3 separate regions of the Homo sapiens genome follow, and all the other regions are linked to region 3. The links are contacts of gene promoters, found by promoter capture Hi-C in blood cells and fetal thymus (Javierre and others, 2016). All regions are on one chromosome and are shown on one strand. Each heading gives the region's core, a stretch centred on a gene start or on the middle of the fragment in contact. The rest is flanking DNA. Distances are from core to core; before and after follow the strand shown. Region 1 overlaps RB1 (RB transcriptional corepressor 1). Region 2 overlaps ITM2B (integral membrane protein 2B). Region 3 holds the start of MED4-AS1 (MED4 antisense RNA 1).

Evidence for each region. Contacts are between HindIII fragments. The CHiCAGO score rates a contact against its expected background, and 5 or more counts as called.
Region 1: a fragment that was not itself captured here is called in contact with the fragment with the promoter of MED4-AS1 in region 3 in 2 of 17 cell types (naive CD8 T cells and naive B cells); the score reaches 5.4 in naive CD8 T cells.
Region 2: a contact is called between a fragment that was not itself captured here and the fragment with the promoter of MED4-AS1 in region 3, in 1 of 17 cell types (total CD8 T cells). The highest score is 5.5, in total CD8 T cells.

Annotation. Positions count from the first base shown.
Region 1 is chr13:48,310,835-48,314,642 of GRCh38, reverse strand. All of the region lies in intron 2 of RB1 (RB transcriptional corepressor 1), which reads right to left. Among named protein-coding and RNA genes, the nearest start is that of RB1, 9.0 kb to the right of the region's middle. The HindIII fragment of the contact is 747 bases long and covers 1,878-2,624 here.
Region 2 is chr13:48,247,677-48,251,453 of GRCh38, reverse strand. The region is part of intron 1 of ITM2B (integral membrane protein 2B); the gene reads right to left. Among named protein-coding and RNA genes, the nearest start is that of ITM2B, 16 kb to the right of the region's middle. The HindIII fragment of the contact is 1,093 bases long and covers 1,543-2,635 here.
Region 3 is chr13:48,074,844-48,078,698 of GRCh38, reverse strand. MED4-AS1 (MED4 antisense RNA 1) reads right to left here and starts at 1,562. Exons shown (of 3, transcript NR_046511.1): 1 at 1,348-1,562; 2 at 1,146-1,257. MED4 (mediator complex subunit 4) reads left to right here. Exons shown (of 7, transcript NM_014166.4): 7 at 1,388-2,975. The coding sequence ends at 1,560. The HindIII fragment of the contact is 10,244 bases long and covers 1-3,855 here.

The DNA.
Region 1 (3,808 bases), core at 1,002-3,501, 240 kb before region 3:
TTTTTAGTAGAGACAGGGTTTCACCATGTTGGCCAGGCTGGTCTCAAATTCCTGACCTCAAGTGATCCACCCACCTCGGCCTCCCAAAGTGCTAAGATTACAGGCGTGAGCCTCCGTGCCCAACTGATTTTAGCTGCTCTTATCCAAAAAAAATAGATTTTATTTCTATCCACCTACAATGAATAAGCCAAAAAGGAAAGAAAACAATTCCATTTATAATAATATCACCAAGAATAAATATTTAGTAAGATTTATACTCTGAAAACTGAAAACACTGGTGAAAGAAAGACTTAAACGAAAAGACATTCCATATGCATGCATCTGAAGACTTCATGTTGTTAAGAATGCAATATTCCGCAAATTGATCTAGATCCAACATAATCCCTATCAAAATCCCAGCTGCCTTTTTTTAAAACAGAAATTGACAAATTGATCCTAAAAATTCACATGGAAATTCAAGTACCAAGAGTAACAAAAGTAATCTTGAAAAAGAAAACCAAAGTTGTCGAACTCACACTTCCCTATTTCAAAACATACTACAAAGCTATAAAACATACTACAAAACAGTATGGTACTATCATAAGAATAAACATACGGCCAGGCGCGGTGGCTCACGCCTGTAATCCCAGCACTTTGGGAGGCCGAGGTGGGCGATCACGAGGTCAGGAGATCGAGACCATCCTGGCTAACACAGTGAAACCCCGTCTCTACTAAAAATACAGAAAAATTAGCCGGGCGTGGTGGCAGGCACCTGTAGTCCCAGCTCTTTGGGAGGCTGAGGCAGGAGAATGGCATGAACCCGGGAGGCGGAGCTTGCAGGAAGCCGAGATTGTGCCACCGCACTCCAGCCTGGGCGACAGAGCGAGACTCCGTCTCAAAAAAAAAAAAAAAAAAAAAGAATAAACATACAGAGCAATGGAATAGAACTGAGACTCCAGAAATAAACCCTGGTTTTTATAGTCAACTGATTTTCATCAAGGGCACCAAAACAATTCAATGAAGAAAGAATAGTCTTTTCCATAAGTGGTGCAGAGACAACTGGATATCCACATTCAAAAGACTGGAGTTAGACCTCTTCCTCACATCATACACAAAAATTAACTCAAAAAAAAAAAACAAAAAAAAACCCAAGACTGACAAGAACTAAAAACCATATGACTTTTAGAAGAAAGCACAGAATAAGTCTTCATGACCTTGGGTTAGTCAAGGCCTTCTTAGATACAACATCAAAAGCCCAAGCAACCAAAAAAAAAACCACCACCAAAAAAAAAATAGAAAACTGGACTTCATCAAAATTAAAATCCTACGCTGCAAATGACATCATCAAGAAAGTGAAAAGGCAACTCACAGAATGGGGGGAAAAGTCTGCAAATAATATATCTTATAAGAGATATGCATAAAGGAGAAGCTTTAACTGCATCTTAAAAACAGAATTTAGGCTAAAAGAAAAAAGAAGGGTATTCCAAAAAAAGGGGAGATCGCATGAATATGAATACTATCATATTCATATGGAAGATATTCATATGGAAGATTCATATGGAAGGGAAGAGAACACAGGCATTGGGGGCCAACAATGGAAATAAAAAATAAGACTGGAAGGAAGGTTAAAGCACAGACCATGAAGAACTACAAATACTGAGAAAGTTTGGACTTTACTTCTTCATAATGGTGGTGGGAGCATGGGAGGGTGTTACAATGGAGGCTACTGAGAGTGGGTTGTAACAATGAAAAATAAATTTTAAAGCAAAAGGGGCAAACTGTACACCAGTCTTTTCTAAAAATCAGGCACAGGATGGATTGGATGGAGAAAAGAAGAGACTAGTCAGAAAGAGGCACTAAAACATGCATAAAAAATGCTCAAGTCAATGACATAAGCTTCCACCTTCTGAAATTAAAAAAATAAAAAGGAAATTAAAACCAAAGCAAACAGTAAAAACCAAGCACTGCTGGTAAAAGAAATGAAGGGACAGACGTGAGAGGCAATGCAAAAAGATAACTTGAGACTGAACGGATAGGTTTAAAATAGAAGGAGTCTGGTATAGTTTTAATTAGTCCTATGGACAGACACTGAATACCAAGGTAAACCTGTAAAGAAAGCAAATGGTAGTGTAAAATTCCACTTCTTCCTAGAATGCAGAAAGCTGCAAAGAGTATTGCTCCCACCCTCACAACAAGAACAAGCCAGATAAGGAACAAAAACAACCTTTCTTGAAATCAACATATCCTTTCCTTATATTTCAGATTATTTAATTTCCCCTAAAAAAAGGAACCTCCAATGAGAGAAAAGATATAAATAATGGCTCATCTGTGGCACAACATGAAAGGAAGAGACACAGGGAACCCTAACAAAAGTAAAAAGTATTCAGCTAAAAATTTTTAATGAATGCTGATTACAAAACAACAAAAATCCATTTAAATATAAAAAAGAAATAGGTTAAAATCAAAATGAAGGTAAACGATACACATTGTAAAGAGTGATCACAAGAAAAGTGGAATCGATATGTGGACACTGCAGAACAAAAGATATAAATTTGGATAAAAAAGCACATTACATAATGATAAAGGTACCAATTTACCTAAAAGGCATAAAAATTCTAAACTTGTATGTACCCAAGGATAAAGCTTTAAAATACACTAATAAAGGCCAGGCACAGTGGCTCACGCCTGTAATGCCAGCACTTTGGGAGGCCGAGGGCAGATCATGAGGTCAGGAGTTCGAGACCAGCCTGACTAACACGGTGAAACCCCGTCTCTACTAAAAATACAAAAATTAGCCGGGTGTGGTGGCGCATGCCTATAATCCCAGCTACTCGGGAGGCTGAGACAGGAGAATCGCTTGGACCCGGGAGGCAGAGGTTGCAGTGAGCCGAGATCGTGCCACGCACTCCAGCCTGGGTGACAGAGCAAGACTCCATCTCAAAATAAAATAAAATAAAAAATACATTAATAAAAAACAGAATTTAAAAGGACCATTCTAATTATAGTTGGAGGCTTCATATTTCTCCCTCAATAATTAGTAAAACACATAGAAAGAAAATCAGTAAGGATATGGATGATCTACTGTACCTTTTCTATGTATAGATATACAAATACTTACCATTGTGTTACAATTGCCTACAATGTTCAGTACAGTAACATGCTGTACACATTTGCAGACTAGGAGCAACATGCTATATACCACACAGCATAGGTGTGTCATAGGCTATACCATCCAGGTTTGTGTAAGTACATGCTATGATGTTCACACAACGATGAAATCACCTAATGATGCATTTCTCAGATGTGTTCCCATTGTTAAGCAACACATGACTGTATTTATTTAAAATATAACCACCATATCACAAAAATAAGTAAGTGGTTCTATCAAGAGCAATATATCCCAAAGCTCTTTGAGATATGTATATCATACATTTCATATACATATATATGTATGTATAACAAAAAGCCTATGAGGTTCACATTCAGGCATTATTTCTGCCTTACAGGTGAGCAAACTGAGACTCACAGAATTAACCAATTTGCCTAAAATCATATAGCTACAATATAATTACAACCAAAGTTTCCTGCCTTGAGGTCCAAGGCATTTTCCATTCTACCATACTACCAATCAAGATGCAGAAAGTAAACCAAAATTCTAACAGCTGATTCACCTTAAGTCACAATATGAACATCACCTTAGCCAATTTCTTAATGGAAAGTCCTATTCATATGCTATAATCAGCATAAATACAATCTAACCTTATGAACAAAGCTAATCTTTATTATTACACTTTACTAAATATTTATTTTAAAAAAAGAAAACACTTTT
Region 2 (3,777 bases), core at 840-3,339, 170 kb before region 3:
TGTTAGATCAGTCCGGAAAACAGATAAATATACAAAAAGAAAATAAATATGATACAAACTCTAATAGGAAAATGCACAGAGAGCACATAAGAGGGGATGAGTTTCAGGAAGACTTCCCAAGGGAGAAAATACTTTAGTGGAATGTTAAAGGACAAATACTCATTACCTCAGCAGAAGATAGAGTTAAAGGAAATTTTATATATGGCAATGATTTTTCAAAATTTATGGAGCTAAAATGCATGACATTTCCAAGAGCCACATGTGCTTTGGCTGGAGTGCCCAATATGGTGGAGATGAGTATGAGAAATGATGGACAAGAAGCTGGTGCAGGTCACAAAAGACCTTTGTAAACCATGCTAGAGTTTGACTTCTCATGTTCATTCAAAAATCACTTCTCAGCACTATTGAATATTTTTTTAAAATTCAATTTCTTGAGGAATTTCACTTACAAATACTTCACTTATCCACAGGTCAATTTATTCAGCACCTCAACAACGTGAAACGTGGCTTAAGAATCAGGAAATAAACAAGAGTCTTTGGTCAGCCAAATTATAGACCCCAAACCTATGCACCACCATCATGTACTTCATAGAAGAGCTGTTTAATCTTCAAAGTCTATCTAATCTTTGTTCTCTAAATTCCTAATTATCACTTTTCTTTCATGAGAATAATTCACATAAAGATCTTATCTCTCTCTACTAGGCTATAAGATCTTTTAAGTATCCATTCATATTCATTTTGCATTACTGGTAGCTCCAAGCCAAGCTTAGGCTTGGCATTAGCTGGCACTCATATATTTGATGAGTGAATAAAACTTAGATCTTTTTTTTTTTTTTGAGATGGAGTCTCGCTCTGTTGCCCAGGCTGGAGTGCAGTGGCGCGATCTCAGCTCACTGAAAGCTCCACCTCCTGGGTTCACACCATTCTTCTGCCTCTGTCTCCCGAGTAGCTGAGACTACAGGCGCCCGCCACCACACCCGGCTAATTTTTTGTATTTTTAGTAGAGACAGGGTTTCACCGTGTAGCCAGGATGGTCTCAATCTCCTGACCTCGTGATTCACCCGCCTCGGCCTCCCAAAGTGCTCGGATTACAGGCTTGAGCCACCGTACCCGGCCAACTTAGATCTATTTTTTTAAAAAGCCTGGTTATTTAATTTTTTATGATTCATAAAAGTTATACCAGCAGCCAGCGTGATAATAAGGGAAGGGAGAGATGCAACATAATTCATAACGTAAAACAAACTGTGGCTATTTAGCAAGAGCAGTAGCCTAGTTCAGCATTTATTAAGTAAGGCTTGCTATTTGCAATATACTGTGCTAGATCCTGTGGGAAATCAAATGTGATTAAGACATGGCTCCTACTTTGAGCGATTTATAGTCAAGAATTAACATCACGTATGATAGATAAATGATGTTCCATAATACAATCCGAGTCATGGAGAAGGGATTAAAGTATGCTCAAGATTTAAAAGTTTTTAATCTAAGAGATTTATTAAAAGTGTTTTTAGAGTGATTAAATTTTAACACTTCAAAGAGTAAGCTTTACTTAAAGAAAAAGCCACGTGAGATTTAAGAAGAAAAACCCCATGACTATCTCAAAATATACAGAAAATGTATTTGACAAAATTCAACTTCCATTAAAAAAAAATCTTTGCAAACTAGCAAAGGGTGAAATTCTTTAACATCAGTAAGGCTAATAATCAAAAGCCTATAGAAAGCCTCATACTTAATGGTGAAACTTTAATACTTCACCATACCCTTTTAATTGAGGAATACAGGAATGCCCACTAAAATTGACTGTTTCCACTGAACACTGTACTAGAGATCCTACAGCAAGTACACAAACAATAAAAAGATTAGGTATTAGAAAAAAGAAAAAACTGTTATTATTTGTAAATAATCTGTCTATGTAGAAAATCTAAGAAAGTCAAATTATTTAAACTAATTAGAGGGTGGCAAGATTTTTAAAGATCAATAATCAAAAATCAACTGAGTCAAAAATTTAGTCATGAATATTTACAGCATCATTATTTATATACTAGCCCCAAACTAGAAACAACCCAAATATCCATCAACTGATGAATAAATTGTGGTATATTCATACCATGAAATAGATAGCAATAAAAAGGAACAAAATAACACACACCAGCGGGACTGAATCTCAAAAACATGCTAAGTGAAAGAAGTTTAGCACAAAAGATTACTCACTATATGATCACATCTTTATCAAATTCTAGAAAAGGCAAAACCATAATGACAAAAGCAGCTTACTGGCTGGGGAAGGGGAGACTGACTACAAACAGGCATGAGGAAACTAATTACTTGGGTGATGGAAATCTTTCGTATCTTGATTGTTGGGGTGGATATATGACTTTATACAATTACCATAAATTCAATCAAATTGTACACATAAAATGCAGGAGTTTTATTCCATGTAAATTATATTTTGATATGGAGGGTGGGGAAGAAATCAACTGAGTTCCTGTCTACCAGGCAATAAAAGAATGTCTAACACCAAGTGCTAGAAAAAGTGTGTAACAAAGGGAACTTGGGAACTTCCACTCAATTGACAGAAATTTAGGTCCAACTGCTTTGGAGAACAATTTGGCAGTATCTAATAAACATACATCAAGCTTGTCCAACCCGTGGCCCATGGCCGTGTGTGGCCCAGGACAGATTTGAATGTGGCCCAACAGAAATTCACAAACTTTCTTAAACCATTATGACTTTTTTTGTGATTTTTTTTCCCAGCTCATCAACTATTGTTAGTGTATTTTATGTGTGGCTCAAGACAATTCTTCTTCCAATGTGGCCCAGGAAAGCCAAAAGATTGGACACCTCTGACATACATTTATCTTATGACCTAGCAATTCCATTCCTAGGTATAAATCCTGGATAAACTTTTGAATATGTAAGGAAATATGTCCAAGAATATACACTACATTGTCAGCAACAAAAAAAAAATTCGAAATAAATTATTATAGATTCATATAATACTGCTAAAAAGATTCAACTAGTGACCAGGCCCAGTGGCTCGTGCCTATACTCTCAGCACTTTGGGAGGCAGAGGCAGGAGGACTGCTCAAGCCCAGGAGTTCCAGACCAGCCTGGGCAACATAGCAAGATCCTATCTCTTTTAAAAAATAAAAATTAAAAAAAAAAAGTACTAGCACTGCTGATTTTTAGATAAGCCTAAGAAACATAATTGCTGACCCCCCCAAAAAAGGCACGTTGCACAACATATAACACCACATATTTAAGTATTATGTAAGTATGTGATATTTAAGACTTTCAAAACATATAAAATATACTTCAGGTTCTCTGTATTTTGTGTGCCTGAAATATTTCATAATTTTAAAAAGAAAAAAACCACTAACAAGTAAGAGCTTCTTCACTGGGGTATATAACTTTACCTGGCCTAATTTAAAACAAGTCACCGAGACGTTTCCTCCCTTCTACTGCAATAAAACTGGTGCACCTTGCATCGCGCTTAAAAGGTAACAGAACTCCCACAGGTGCTGTACAATTATCATCTAATTAATCTTCCTAAACCTCAAGTTTTTTAGCCCAGTTTATAAAAGAAGACACTGCAGCACACGCTGGCCTATAACCACCTTGCAACAGTAGATATAGAAAGACCTGGCTTTCAGGAGCACTCTCACTCTGGCACAGTACTAATTTCTAGTTCAAATAAATCTCAGCATTGGATAATAAAATAAAATTACTTAAGAAGTTATATCTTAAACAAAATGAAGGACAAATTCTTTTCTGGTACTT
Region 3 (3,855 bases), core at 313-2,812:
GACAGACCTAAAAACAGTCTTCCCCAGCTCCATCCCAAGGCCGATACTCTCATATCATGGTGCTGTCATTGGAGAGGGTGCAGTGTAATGTGGCCCACTCCATGGCAGAGAAGTTAGATGAGGCATCAGAGGCCAGAGCTGGCAAGCAGGAAATTACCCACTGGGGTTCCAGGGAGACTTGCTGGGAAGCTGCCCTTTGGGATTCTGGTGAAACCTGCTAGGAAACCACCTTTAGAGGCGCCACCGAAAGTTGCTGTGGTGAACACCACTTAATGTCCTGCACACCAACCAGGCATCACAGCAGTAAAGGAGACAAAACCACCTGATCCAGGAAGTGAAACTTGTTTGCTAGTGGAGTCCCACCTGTGCCCTCTACTGACAAAACTTAATTGTGGCAGCTGGCAAAGGAGAAATGGTTTCAGGGGCCAGAGAGAAGGGTAGATTTGAGGCTAACTGGCATACCTTTCTAGTTAATACCATAACTCTTTCTTTTGACCCTTTAAAAATCTGCCTTCTTTATTTGAGTCTTGAACTATACCTGTTTATGTGCTCTGTCCCTTTGCTTCAGAAATACAGACTTTAAATGTAACTTGGGCCCTTTTTTAAGGTATTTCATATGCATACATTGCTAATCAACCTCTCTTTGATGAGAGTCACTTACAATAGCAGTTCCTCTATCAAGAAATCATTCAAATCTATTATAATACTAAAGTACCTATTACTTGTTTATAATATGTAGAATAATCTACATAACCTAGTATACATAAGTATGTATTATATATGCATATAATAGATACATAGATACAGGAAAAATTTGTAATTACAAATGTCTTACAAAAGAAAAATTATGTCAACTGACTAAATAGTTTCTTACAGAGTAGTATGATTTTTTTAAAAAAGTCCCCAGTTGCTAAAATATCAACTTTTCCTTGATAAATTTGATTTTTATTAATTTGGCTAAATGTGTATTTTTTTCCTAGTCTTAAAAAAATTGGCACAATAGCTTATGCCTGTAATCCCAACACTTTGGGAGGCTGAGGTAGCAGGATAGCTTGAGCCCAGGAGTTGGAGACCAGCCTGGTTAACATAGTGAGACCTCATCTCTACAAAAACTTTAAAAAGTACTCAAGCATGGTGGCACATACCTGTAACCCAGTTACTCAGGAGGCTGAGGCAGGAGGATTGCTTGAGCCTAGGTCAGGGCTTCAGTGATGTATTCGTGCCACTGCACTCAAGCCTGGGTGACAGAATGAGACCCTGTGTCAAAAAAAGAAGAGAAAAAAGTAAAATTAAAAAAAATACTTCAAATTGTTGCATAAAGGGAAAAGTAAGAACTAGATTAATTACAGATAGAGCTGTTCTTATCTATGCTTCTTTTTTTCTCCAGATGTCCTTGCTCCACAGTATCCATGGCAGTCAAATGACATGTCGATGAATATGTTACCACCAAATCATAGTAGTGACTTTTTGTTGGAACCTCCTGGGCATAATAAAGAAAATGAAGATGATGTAGAGATTATGTCAACGGACTCCTCAAGCAGTAGTAGTGAGTCTGATTGAAAAACCTTAAAAGACAATATACAGAATTGAATACTGTAGAATTCTGTTTCTTTAACAGTAGCAGGGAAATGTAAACTACAGGTGACAAAAAATACCCAGGTAAACACTGGCTTTGGTAGAATTGTGCAGTCATTAAAAGTCAAAATTTTTTGACTTTCTTTTTAAAGCCAAAGACCATAGTTTTAGTTTTAAGCCACTAGGTAGATATTTAGGGGAATAGTCAAAATTTACTGTTGAAAAAGCAGTTGCTATGTGCTTTCTTACCCTGTTCTGTTCCAGTTTTGCTGGATTTGTACATAGCCATTCTAGAAATAGAGTTGAGGGAAATTATCCATATACATATCACTAATAGGCTTCTTGGAATTATTTAGAAAAGCATTTTTAAACTGGCAGTGGATGACTGAATAGGCATCATATTTCTTTTTGTGTGTCATTTAAAAGTAACAAAAACTGCCATTTGACAGTAAAGGCTCTTGGCTTCTGTTGGAGGCATGGGAAATTGTCTCAATTTGTACAGTTTGTAATTGTAATTTTTGTAAATAAATTTGTTTGTACATTGTATGCTTTTTTTTTAGTTTAAATATACTGTCAGTGTAGGTAGGAAATTATTTCTGTAAATCCAGTTGCATTTTATAATACTTGAGTGACTAACTGAATTGAAACCTATTACAATTAATAGGGTTCTCAAAGGCCTATTCCTATTAGAAGAAATAATTTTTTTTAATAATTGAAAAAATTTACCACAGCCTTGTCTGATTTTAAGAATAGATTGTGTGAAGATTTAGAATGGAAAGCAACCATTTCTTCCCTTCACCTTCCTCTTCTTACAGTTCCCCAGGAGTCATTTTTAACCACTTTTAATTTCTGTTGGTAACCTCTGTGTTTAGGTAATATGCTTATACAACTATTTCTTGATGTATCAGTTTTAGACAATGTATCTTCTGATTTCAAAGGTAATACAACATTTAATGTGAAACATTTAGTGAATACAGTAAAGGAGAAAATAAAATTGTTAGCATTCTACCCAGAGATAATATCAATTCATATTGTAGTGTAGATTTTTTTAAAGTTCACATACACTTTTTTGTAAAATGAGAATAATGTTTATTTCCTGAGATACTGCTGTATTTTTTAATTGCTAATCTGTATTCTTCAAATGAACTGAGAATTCCATTTTTCCATCATTTTTTCCTTTTGATTATTTTCGATCTCTAGAAAAATTGGAAAATAGGAGATTAATCTTATATTTTCACCATCTAGAATTAAGGACATACAATGTTTGAATGTCTTTCCCTCCAGGGTTATTTTTAGGAATGGACTAACACAATATCTAATTTTAACCTTGCCTTGTCCGTATACTAGGAATATTGATCCATGTGTATACATTCTTGAAAGATTTACTTTAATGGCTAAAATTTTATTGTGGTATGTGCCATAATGTAACTGCCTGTTTTTATCACCAAATCTTTAGGGTAGATTCAAAAGGATTGTGTTTTTCAAATTCTTTAATACTGTATTAGTTTTCAGTTGCTGCCGTAACAAATTACCACAAACTTGGCTCAAAACAACACAAATTTATCTTAGTTTTGTACATCACAAATGTGAAGTGGGTCTCACCTAAAATCAAGGTGTGAGCAGGGCTGCATTCCTTCCTGGAGGCCATAGGGGAGAATCTGTCCCCTGTGTCTTCCAGGTTTTAGAGGCCGCCCTTGGTCCTGCTCCAGGCCCCTGGTTGGTGAGTGTTTCTCATTCTGCATTACTGTGATGCTCTTCTGCCTACCTGTCCCATATTTAAAGGATCCTGTGATCATTCTGAGCCCACTGGATAACCCAGAATAATCTTCTTATTTAAAGTGAGATGATTAGCAACCTTTATTCTGTTTGCAACCTTAATTCTTCCTTGCCATGTAACAAAACAACATTCATAGGTTCTGTAGATTGGGATTTAGACATCTTTGGGGAAAGGGGGTCATTATCCAGCCTATCAGAAATAATCCAAACTTTTCCCCTGAAAATTACACAAATATACATTCTATCAGTACTAAGTCAATATCATAAGTCTATATATTTCTGAATTTTTTTTTTTTTGGAGACGGAGTCTTGCTCTGTCACCCAGCCTGGAGTGCAGTGGCTCTATCTCGGCTCACTGCAAGCTCCACCTCCTGGGTTCACGCCATTCTCCTGCCTTAGCCTCCTGAGTAGCTGGGACTACAGGTGCCCACCACCACGCCTGGCTAATTTTTTTGTATTTTTAGTAGAGACGGGGTTTCACCATGTTAGCCAGGATGGTCTTGA